2 separate regions of the Homo sapiens genome follow, and region 2 is linked to region 1. The links are contacts of gene promoters, found by promoter capture Hi-C in human tissues and cell types (Jung and others, 2019). All regions are on one chromosome and are shown on one strand. Each heading gives the region's core, a stretch centred on a gene start or on the middle of the fragment in contact. The rest is flanking DNA. Distances are from core to core; before and after follow the strand shown. Region 1 holds the start of TEX38 (testis expressed 38). Region 2 overlaps NASP (nuclear autoantigenic sperm protein).

Evidence for each region. The method cuts DNA at HindIII sites, captures the fragments that hold promoters and counts their contacts. A contact is called where the count stands out against the background at its distance.
Region 2: a fragment that was not itself captured here is called in contact with the fragment with the promoter of TEX38 in region 1 in 1 of the 25 tissues and cell types used here (aorta).

Annotation. Positions count from the first base shown.
Region 1 is chr1:46,668,061-46,674,022 of GRCh38, forward strand. It overlaps TEX38 (testis expressed 38), which reads left to right and starts at 3,794. Exons shown (of 2, transcript NM_001145474.4): 1 at 3,794-3,911; 2 at 4,813-5,534. The coding sequence starts at 3,875. The coding sequence ends at 5,396. ATPAF1 (ATP synthase mitochondrial F1 complex assembly factor 1) reads right to left here and starts at 304. Exons shown (of 9, transcript NM_001394565.1): 1 at 1-304. The coding sequence starts at 262. RefSeq lists silencers at 1-493, 1-91 and an enhancer at 604-753. The HindIII fragment of the contact is 2,938 bases long and covers 1,754-4,691 here.
Region 2 is chr1:45,596,497-45,602,458 of GRCh38, forward strand. NASP (nuclear autoantigenic sperm protein) reads left to right here. Exons shown (of 15, transcript NM_002482.4): 3 at 5,759-5,869. Among named protein-coding and RNA genes, the nearest start is that of NASP, 15 kb to the left of the region's middle. The HindIII fragment of the contact is 7,294 bases long and covers 1-5,962 here.

The DNA of each region.
Region 1 (5,962 bases), core at 2,544-5,043:
GCAGCAGCTGGATCTTGTCGCGGTAGCGGTCGTAGAAAGGGTTGGCCTGGAGCTCGGCCTCGGCCCCGACCCCGCTGCTGTCGGCGCCCCCCTCGGGCCGGCCCGAGCCGGGGCGCACTGGGAAGACGCGCAGCTGCGCGGGTGACACGAGCCCCAGGCCCAGGGCGCGGCTGCGCACCGCGCACAGGCCCCGGTAGAGACCGGCCACCTGCAGGACCGCCGGTCCCGCGCCACCCGCAGCCGCCACCACCACAGCAGCCATGGCCGCCCCCGCCTCCTCCTCCTCCTCAGGCGCGTCGGCCTCGGCCCGCGGCCCGCGCGCCCGCTCCATCCCGCTCCGAGTGCGCCGCGCCCGCGCTCCGGCACCGAGGTTCCGCGCGCCCAAGGTTCCGGGCGCGGGATAGCGGCGAGGCGGGGCGGGGAGGAGGGGGCGCGCCGCTCTGGCCCCGGCACTGCGCGCTCTCGCCGCCCTGTGTATGCCACGGCCCGCCTCCTCCAGGGAGGCTGCCCAAATTCAACGCCCTTCCTCCCTCTGGGACCAGCAGCCTCTGCGCGCCAAGTCCGTTCTCTAAAGCCAGCGGATCTCCATGTCCTCGCGGTGCTTGCCCCTGGCACTCGCTGTAGTGCCAGGCACTCGATGTAGTAGTCCGTCCTTCAGCATCGAAGGTCTTTTCATCAACTATAATCACAGCAGCAAGCTTCTCTTTACTGAGGTTGCTATGTGCAGGACACTGAGCGGCTTCATACTCTGTGTGGCAGTATTATCCTCATCTAACAAATAAGGAAACTGAGGCCGAGAGTAATTATGTGACTTGTTCAAGTTCTACCCGACAGCTGAGCTCTTTTCAAGATGGCAGCTGCCTCCCAAGCCTCCTTTTCCTCTGCTTCCTGACATCCTCCTTGAACTCCAGCCACAGTGACCTATTCTCTCCCAAAGAAACACCAGGATTACTCCTTGAAGAGTCCTTATTCAGGCCCTTTTTGACCCCTGGAATCCTCTCTCCTTCCATTCTCTCAACCCAAATGCCACAATCTTCCTTACCGTCTGAACCAGGTGTGAGCTCCTAGGGTCAGGGACAGTGACATTAACATCTCTGTGTCCCACCTGCTCACAGAACAGGGCCAGTCCTGGAGTGGGCTCTCTGGGACAGTACTCATCATCAGGTCCTTCTTGTCTGGGTTTTGTCTGATTGAAGCCCCTCCTGGGACAGGGGCAGAGCCTTCAACTCTGCTCAATCCAACCTATGCTCATGGAGATCAGCCCTGAGCCCTGCCCTGTGCGAGGAACAGTGTAATGGAAGATGAATAAGTCCTTCAAGTATGCCAGCCCATACCTGGCTCACACTCCTAACACTTGCTGTTTTCTCTGTGGATCTGCATGTGGCTGCCTCCTCATCATCTAAGGGCTCAGTTCACATGTAAGCACCTCCAAGGGACCTAAATGACAACCCCTCCATCTCTTTATAGTCTTTATCCCATCACTCTATTGCATTCTCTTTATAGCAGTTATCATTATCTGAAGTTCTTAGATCCTTGTTTATATTAATTCATTGAGCTTACATTCTAGTGGAGTGAAACAGACAGTAAATATATAATGTTAGGTGATGCTACATGGTATGCAGAAAAACAGCAGGCCAAGAGAGATAGAGATAAGGGGACACTTGAGCAGAGACCTGAAGGTAATGTGGGAATGCTGGGGGAAGAGCCTTCCAGGTAGGGGAAACAGCAAGTGCAAAGGCCCTGATGAGGAGGTTATTGAGTCTGAATGAGTGAGGGCACAGCAGCAGAAATGAGACCAAGAAGGTATAGGGAGGGCTAGTTAGATTGCTTAGGCCTTGGTTAAGGACTTTGATTTTAAATCGAATGAGATCGGAAGTTACTATATGTTTTAAGCAGTGGAGTAACATGATCTACTTTTTAAAAGGATCATGCTGGCTGCTGGTGGGATTTAGGATATGTGGAGGCAAGGATGGAAACTCTCCCAAGGGTGACTAATTTATTCCAGTTTGCCTAGGACTTTCTTGGCTCTAGCATTGAAAGCCCCATGTCCTGAGAACCCACCCCAAGTCCTGGGCAAACCAGGATGTTGGTCACCCTACAGGGAACAGTAATCCAAGTGAGAGATGGTGGTACTTGGACTAAAGTGATAGTGATAAAAAAAAGTGGCCAGATTTTGGTTATATTTTGAAATAAAAGCCTAAAGATCTTGCTGATGGAGTCAGTGTGGGTGTGATAGAATGAAAGGAGTCAAGGATGACTTGCAGGTTTTTGGCCTGAACAACCCGAAGGACAGAGATACTACTTATGAAGAGGAGGAAGGCTGTAGGTAGGGTAGACTTTGGAGGATGGATAATCAGAGTTTGGTTTTGGACATGTTGGTTTGGGATAATTTAACAGACTGGCAAGGAGGGATGTCAACCAGGTATTTGGGTATGAGTCTAAAGTTCTGAGGAGCATTCCAGGCTGGAGAGATACAGTTGCGTACTGTCAGTGTATAGTGATATTTAAAGCCAGGGGTCTGGGTGAGATAACTGATGGAATGAATGTAGATAGAGCACTAAGAACTGAGCCCTAGACATGCCTACATTTAGAGATCAGGGGAAAAGGGAGAAACCAGCAAAGGAGACTGGAAAGTAGGGGCCAGTGATATACGAGGAGAACAAGGGTAAGTGGACCCTGGAGAGAATTCTGTGCTAAATAGTTCCCTAAGTCACACATTGGAGGACTATAAAGAGGGGAGTCATTAAAATGGTGCTAAGAAGCTGAGCTACAAGCAGTGGTGCAACATACTGGGAAGGCTGACTTAAGCTTAATTAGGGAAGGGCTTTCTAACTGAGCTGCCCATAAATGCATCAAGCTGCCTCAGGAGGTGGTGAGCAAGTTCCTGACTCAAGTGAGTCTTGAGTCCAGGGAGATTAGTTGCTGTGTGGGGAAAAATCTACCCCCAGGAGTCAAGCATGGCCCTGATGGTGGGATCAGATGGTGGAGATGAACTAGACAACTCTCAAAGTTTCTTCAAATTGGCGATGATATGATTCTGGGCAGTCTGTCACAGAGTAGGGGGGCTGAGCTGAGTCTTGAAGGATGAGCAGGTGTTCAGTGGTGGAAAAGTGGGCAGGGGCACTCCTGGGTGAAGGAGCAGCATGGGCACACCTCCAGAGATGTGAATGAGCAGGGTCTGTTCAGGAGTACGGACTAGGCAAAAGGGAAAAGTGTGTGGAGGACGAGGAGGGAAGTAAGGCTGGAAGTAGATGCAGGCCAGATGGTGGGAAGCCCCACAGGGCCTGGGGCCTGGGAAACACTTGTCAGCACTTGAAGGAAGGTAATTAAATAAAAGACAGATTGTTGGAGCCAAAGAAGGAGGTATTGACCACTTGGTTCCCTTGAGCAGGTTTCTTCCTGCCAACTTGGTTAGATACTTTTTGAGAACAGGGCTGCCCAATGCTGTGTGTTCCTTGTTACATTCCTCACTGGGGACAGGTATCCCATCAACCGTTCCCTAAAGACCAGCAACATCCGTAAGTACCTGAGGGACAATGGCCCTTTTCTGGGGTCTGCTCTGTGGGTTCACCATAAGGGGTAGGTACAGACAATTCAATAGGTGAACCAGTCTCTGATGGAAGTAGTAGTGACATTCCACCCAAAAAATGCCACTGGATGAAGTCCCCTCCTTCCATTAACCCAGGACCACTTCACAAGCACTGCCCCTAGAATGCCCAATTCTCAGAACCCAGTGACCTCTCCTTTAGAGAACAAAGGGCCTGGGCATTCTGGAGACTCTGATTGGCTGGGCAGATGGGCTGACTGGCTGGGCAGATGGGTGGGTGAGTTCCCTCTCCCCAGAGCCATCGGCCAGGTACCAAAGCTCAGCTGTATGGATTCCCAACAGGAGGACCTGCGCTTCCCTGGGAGTAAGTGCTCCTCCAGTCCCTGTCACTGGACTTGTGCCTTAGGGCTTGGGGACAAACACTCAGGGAAGGCCCTTTGCATGGATGGGACAGTGCCTGGCTGCCTGGAGGAGAGCTAAGCAGTTAGGAGATAGTCTACTCTAGAAAACTAAGAATTATTTTAAGGCAAAGACCATGCTCTGATCAACCAGAGAAGATACTATCAATAGCCCAGGACTATCACAGCTGAATGGAATGGGATGGGACATTGGTGTCTCTGTCAACTGATGAACTTTCACTTTTTTTTTTTTTTTTGAGATGAAGTTTTGCTCTGTTGCCCCGGCTGGAGTGCAGTGGCTCAATCTAGGCTCACTGTAACCTCCACCTCCTGGATTCAAGTGATTCTCCTGCCTCAGCCTCTGAAGTAGCTGGGACTGCAGGCATGCACCACCACACCTGGCTAATTTTAAAATTTTTAGTAGAGACGGGGTTTCACCATGTTGGCCAGGCTGGACTTGAAGTCCTGACCTCAAGTGATCTGCCCACCTGGGCCTCACAAAGTGCTGGTGAACTTTTGCTTCTTGATGGACTTGCCCATAGTGAAACTTCTCAGTCTGATGGATTGGATGGGTCCTGGGTTAGGAATCAGAGGCTTGACTGAGCCTGGGCAGCACATGCCCCCGCTAGACCTAGCTTTTGTGATCTGTAAAGAGTTAAAGGTGGTGCTTAAGCTCCCTGGAAATCTAGCTTTGACTGAATAAGGGAATGATGAGGCAAGTCAATAAGGGAGGGAAGGAACGGTGAGAGTAGTTAAGTGGATGGAGCGATTGATGCATGGGTTAAGTGAAAGAGGAATGAGAAACAGCTCAGGCCCCAAGCTACAGCTATCAGCCAGCATGCCTCTTTTTCTTTCTTGCTGCCTTAGTGTGGGTCTCATTGTACTTTGGAATCCTGGGGCTGTGTTCTGTGATAACTGGAGGGTGCATTATCTTTCTGCACTGGAGGAAGAACTTGAGGCGGGAAGAGCATGCCCAGCAGTGGGTGGAGGTGATGAGAGCTGCCACATTCACCTACAGCCCATTGTTGTACTGGATTAACAAGCGACGGCGCTACGGCATGAATGCAGCCATCAACACGGGCCCTGCCCCTGCTGTCACCAAGACTGAGACTGAGGTCCAGAATCCAGATGTTCTGTGGGATTTGGACATCCCCGAAGGCAGGAGCCATGCTGACCAAGACAGCAACCCCAAGGCGGAAGCCCCTGCTCCCCTGCAACCTGCACTGCAGCTGGCTCCACAGCAGCCCCAGGCCAGATCCCCATTCCCACTTCCCATCTTTCAGGAGGTGCCCTTTGCCCCACCCTTGTGCAACCTACCCCCCCTGCTGAACCACTCTGTCTCCTATCCTTTGGCCACCTGTCCTGAAAGGAATGTTCTCTTCCATTCCCTCCTGAATCTGGCCCAGGAAGACCATAGCTTCAATGCCAAGCCTTTTCCTTCAGAACTGTAGCCTCCTCTCACTGAAGGTGGGAGCTGCAGGAATCAGGTGCAGAGTAGGAAATGGAACTAACCTCAGGAAGGTGGTATTGACAGAGGTCAGGACCCACCTGGATGTCATGCTATGAAACATTAAAAGAAAAAAAAAAAAGTCCAAGGCTCCCTCGTTTCTCATTTGCTGTTAGGAAGGCAATGTCCTTCCTGTCTGATGGGGTCACTTTGCAAACCAAGTTGGTTGCTGAGTCTCACCAATATGAACTGGCACTGGTGGTTGGCTGTGGGGAGACACACTGAACCAGTACTTGTGGATGGACTCAATATCCCTCTGTTCAGTATTTAAAACAAAAATGTGTGCCAGGCCCTGGCCTAGGTACCCCAAGGCACTGGTGTTCTGTGGGATGTGAAGCACAGCTGCCACCAGAGTGATAGCTGCTGAGGGTACGTGAGCTATGTTGATTTACAGTCGCTATGTCACAGGCAAAATGAGTCATCACGAGCCCTGTGAGCCACACTGCACTATGGGCTGAAATGCATTCTTTGTTATTATCTATGATGTATGCAGCTCTTACGTGGTTGCCT
Region 2 (5,962 bases), core at 2,082-4,581, 1.1 Mb before region 1:
TAGTGTTCTTAACGTTCATCCATGTTGTGGTGTGTCAGAATTTCCTTGCTTTTTATTGTGAGTACTGCTGCTGTGACGTTGGGTTTATGTAATCGTTCATAAGTAGAAGATCTAGAATACAAGATAGACTGGTTTTTAATGTACCAGTATGAGAAGTTCATCAGTGTTTTCAGATTATACAGTACAACTAACCTTTAAGAAATTACCACTTGTTGGTCAAGTGCTGTGGCTCACGCCTGCATCCCAGTACTTTGGGAGGCTGAGGCGAGAGAATCAGGAGTTCGAGACCAGTTTGGCAAACATGGTAAAACCCTGTCTCTAGTAAAAATACAAAAATTAGCGGGGCATGGTGGCATGTCCCTGTAATCCCTGCTACTCAAAGTGGCTGAGGCAGGAGAATCGCTTGAACCTGGGAGGCAGAGGTTGCAGTGAGCTGAGATCGCACTACTGCACTCCAGCCTGGGCAATAGAGTGAGACGCTGTCTCAAAAAAAAGAAAAAAAAGAAAAGAAAAAAGAAATTACCACTTGTTGGCTGGGCATGGTGGCTCACGCATGTAATCCCAGCACTTTGGGAGGCCAAGGCAGCGGATCACTTGAGGTCAGGAGTTTGAGACCAGCCTGGCCAACATGGTGAAACCGTCTCTACTAAAAATACAAAAATTAGCTGGGTGTGGTGGTGCCCGCTTTTAATCCCAGCTACTGGGGAGGCTGAGGCACAAGAATGGTTTCAACCCAGGAGGTGGAGGTTGCAGTGAGCTGAGATCGTGCCACTGCACTCTAGCCTGGGCGACAGAGCAAGACTTTTTTTTTTTTTTTTTTTTTTTTAAGACAAATGACCACTTGTTGGGTTTGGGTGTGGTAACAGAAGAATATCCAGTTATCTGAAAGGACTGTTTAAATATTCTGTTTCCAACTACATATCTGTATCAAGTCAGATATTCCTGTACTTTAATGAAAAGAAAACACGGTAGAGTAGTGAATATGAAAATCCTGTTCTCTTCTACTAACAGACATTTAGGAGATTTGTAAAAATGTAAAACAGTGCCACTATTCTTACCAAATTTTTGTTTTGAAGAGTTATTTTTCAAAGAAAGTCATGTTATTAACATGTAACATTTTAAACTATTTAAAATTATTTTAGTTTTAATTTCAGTATGGCAAATACTGACAGATATAACTTGGATACACAGAGGCTTTTTGGGGGGCTTCAGTAACGTAACAGTGTAAAGGATCCTGACATCATAGTTTCTTTGCTCTTACATAACACCAGCATCTCCGTTTGTTCACAAGATCCCACTCATTATTTACTTAATAATAGAACTCCTTTAGTTCTTTATGCAACAATACTCTTCTTGTTTCCTATGAGATTACTTATATCAGCCCACTAGGTATCATCAGATTTAACCGTTTGTTGACCCCCTCATACTTCCCTTCGTCTATTACCTCACATCAGTTTCTTTGACAGGAAAATGTGAAAGGTGTCCACTCTGTTTATCTGCTACTACTTTTGTTCTTAATTGAAGCTGCTTCAATCAAGTTTTTCTCTACCATTCTACTAAAATAGTCTTGTTTATGGTCTTTAGTACCATCCATATTCCTTACTCTAGTAGTCATTTCTCAGCTCTCTGAGTTAATCTTGTCAGTAACATTTGACCCAATCCATTACTCCTGTTACTTTTTTTTTTTTTTTTGAGATGGAGTCTTGCTCTGTCACCCAGGCTTGAATGCAATGGCACGATCTTGGCTCACTGCAGCCTCCTTCTCCCAGGTTTAAGCAATTCTCCTGCCTCAGCCTCCCAAATAGCTGGGATTACAGGTGTGCACCACCATGCCCGGCTAATTTTGTATTTTTAGTAGAGACGGGGTTTCGCCATGTTGGCCAGTCACTGTGCCTGGACCCATTAGTTTTCTTCATACTATTTTCTTGTCTCTTTTCCTTCACTGGCTATTCCCCTCAACCCCCATTCTTCCTTGTCGTCCCTACCTCTAAATGTTGGAAGGCTCCCAGGGCTCAGTCAGTCCTACAACGTCTTTATTAGTAGCCACTCCCTGTGTATTCTCCTCTGTTAAGTCCAGTGGCTTTAAGTACCTGACTCTCCCATTTGTATCTCCAGTCCCCATATCTCTCCCAAATTTCTCCCTTTTAATATCTTGGAGGTCTAATAGGGATCTCAGAATTAACATATCCAAAGCTAAATACTGTACAGTAATTGATTGCCTTGTTTCTCACTGGCTTTTCCTTCAGTTGACTTTTTAATCAGTCAGTGGCAATGTTGTTCTAGAACTTTTCATCTAGATTGTGTAGATTTGAATCGCTGCCATTAATATTCAGTTTTCCATCTGTAAAGTGGGGGTAATAATTCAATAACTTTATGAGGTGTAGATCCTAGGATTTAAATGTAGATAAAATTTCTACATAGTCCATTATTAACACTTAATACCAGTTGCCCCGGCCAAAAAAACATTTGCTTCACCTCTTTCATTCAATAAATTATATATCTAGTCCATTAGCAAATTTTAAAATAAGTATATTCAGAATCTAACCCTCTCTAATACTCCTCAGGTTCCTGTCTAGATTTTTACGGTTTCTTTCCTTTTTTTTTAAATAGAGAAAGAGTGTTTTTGTTTGTTTGTTTGTTTGTTTGTTTGGACATAGGGTCTTGCTCTGTTGCCCACGCTGGAGTGCAGCAGTGTGATCCTAGTTCACTGCAGCCTTGAATTCCTGGGCTCAAACAGTCTTCCTGCCTTAGCCTTGCGAGTAACGGGGACTACAGGTGCATACCGTGATGTCAGCTAATTTTTGTATTTTCCTATAGAGATGCTAGTCTCTAACTCCTGGGCTCAAGTGATCCTCCCACCTTCGCCTCCCAAAGTGCTGGGACTACAGGCATGAGCCACCATGCTCAGCCTTAGACTTTTTCTTTTCTTCTCTTTTCTTTTCTTTTTTTGAGATGGAGTCTCGCCCTGTCACCCAGGCTGGAGTGCAGTGGCACAATCTCGGCTCACTGCAACCTCTGCCTCCCTGGTTCAAGCAATTCTTCTGCCTCAGTCTCCCGAGTAGCTGGGACTACAGGCACACACCACCACGCCCGGCTAACTTTTGTATTTTCAGAAGAGAGGGGGGTTTCACCATCTTGGCCAGGCTGGTTTCGAACTCCTGACCTTGTGATCTGCCCGCCTCAGCCTCCCAAAGTGCTGGGATTACAGGCATGAGCCACTGCTGCCCGGCCAGACTTTCTTTCCAACTGGTTTTCTCCCCAGTTCTGTTCTTGTTCTATCTTAAAGTCTATACTAATGTGATGCTGCTCTCTCCCTCTTCCTCACCTTTATTTCCCATAATTCTTCCCCAGCTTACTCTAGCCAGAAGAGTTTTCTGTTTCTCAAATATTTTAAGCAAGCTTCTTTTAGAGCTTTGAACTTACTATTGCCTCTGTCCTAGAGTGCTTTTCCTCTGTATTTTTTTTTTTTTTTTTTTTTTGGCTTGCCTTCTTAAGTTCTCTGCTTCAATTTGACATTGTCCCTGTGGTCTTAGCTCATTCTTGTTATAATCACAGTGTCTGGAATTGTGCCCAGCAATATCAGGTACCCAAGTATTGTTGATTGAATTAAGAAGAGGGATTATCCTTCCAAATAATTTGGTTTTCATTAATGGAACTTAAAATGTCACTGACTCTTGCTCTTTTGACCCAGGTTTTTCTTAAAGCTATAAGAAACATTAAATGAAAGTCTAAGTGACATACAGGAAACTGCACATAACTTTAAAGTAACAATTATGAGTTTCTACATATGTATACACCTGTAAACCATTATCACAATCAAGATAATGAGTATTTTCATCACCTCAAAGTTTTTTCCTCATGTGCCTTTGTACTTCATTCCCTCCCCAGCAACCATTAATCTGCTTTCTGTCACTGAAGATGGGTTGCATTTTGTAGAATATTATCTAAATAGAATCATACAGTAAGTACTGTTTCTTTTTGTATAGTTTCTTTGATTCAGCATAATTATTTTGAGATTCATCCATGTTACCACCTGTATTAATAGTTCATTCTTTTTGTTAGTGAATGACATTTTATGATGTAGATATATCACAATTTGTTTATCCATTTGGGTTTCCAGTTTTTGGCTTACAAATAAAGCTGCTGTGAATATTTGTGTACAAGTCTTTGTATGGGCATTCATTTCCATTTTTTGGGTTCACACCTAGGAGTAGAATGGCTAGATCATATGGTAGGTATATATCTAACTTTAAGAAACGTCCAAACTGTTTTCTAAAGTGATTCTACCATTACATTCTTACCAGCAGTGTTTGACAGTTCTAGTTGCCCTACATCCTCACCATCATTTGATATGTGGTCAGTCTTTTAAAATTTTAGCTATTATAGTGAATATAGCAGTATCTTATTGTGGGTTTAGTTTGTATTTTTTTGAGTGAGCAATAATGTTGGCATCTTTTCATGTGCTTATTTGCCATCTGTGTATCTTTGATGACATGTTTGTTAAAATCTTTCGCCCCCTTTTTATTGGATTGTTTTTTATTACTACGTTCTAAGAGTTCTTTATATATTCAAGTCCTTTATCAGAAGTTTTGCATATATTTTCTCCCAGTTGGGCCTGCCTTTTTTGTTTTTATAACAGTGTCTTTCAAAACCAAGTTTTTCATTTTAGTGGTGTGTCTAGTTTATTGATTTTTTTTCCTCTTGTTAATAGTTTGTGCTTTTTCTTTCATATTCAAGAAGTCTTTGCCAAAGCCAAAGTCACTAAGATTTTATCCTGTATTTTCTTGTAGAAACTTTATGGTTTAAATCTTATATTTAGAAAGCCTATGATCCATTGCAGATTAATTTTTGTATGAGATATGAGATAACAGTTGAGGTTCACTTTATTGCATGTGGATTTATAATTACTCCAGCACCATTTGTTAGATTATCCATTCCTCATTGCATTGCCTTGGTACCTTTTTCAAAATTTCAGTCAGTCATATATGCATGGATCTGTTTTTGTACTCTGTGTTCTATTTGATCCATTTGGTTTTCTTTATGCCAATACTACATTGTCTTAATCTTGAAATCACTGCCTCTTGCCCTGTTTACCTAAATGCTTCTTAATTTTAATATTTCTTTTAGCTAGTGCAATTTGTATGAATTTATGGTTCTTTTATGATACCTTTTTTATTTGTGGATCAATTAGGAAATATTTATAGTAATATACAATACAGGCTTTGTGATTAGATGAGCCGTTAAGAGAATTTTTTTTTTTTTTTTTTTTTTTTTTTTGAGGTGGAGTCTCGCTTTGTTGACCAGGCTGGAGTGCAGTGGCGCATCTCAGCTCACTGCAAGCTCCGCCTCCTGGGTTCATGCCATTCTACTGCCTCAGCCTCCCGTAGCTGGGACTACAGGCACCCGCCACCACGCCCGGCTAATTTTTTGTATTTTTAGTAGAGACGGGGTTTCACCATGTTAGCCAGGATGGTCTCGATCTCCTGACCTCGTGGTCTGCCCGCCTCGGCCTCCCAAAGTGCTGGGATTACAGGCATGAGTCACCGCACCCAACTGAGAAAATACTCTAGTCAGGCTTCTGGGAATGTTGCCTTTAAGATTTCTTTTGATTTTGTGATGGTAAATAAGTGTGTTAGCCAGGCCTTGCCAGAGTAGTCCAAAAGTTTTAAAAAATGAAACTATTGCTCAAATGTAGCAGGTATTCAAAAAATACTGATTTAAACAGTACTTGACACTAGAAAAAATCTTTTTTTTGCAGTCTGGATGTGGATAGTGAAGCTAAGAAACTATTGGGTTTAGGACAGAAACATCTGGTGATGGGGGATATTCCAGCAGCTGTCAATGCATTCCAGGAAGCAGCTAGTCTTTTGTAAGTATTGTATATTTTGCTATGATGTAATATTATGTTCTAATAAACCTTGAGTTATCAAAAATTATTTTATGGGGAAAAAGCATGAAGAGC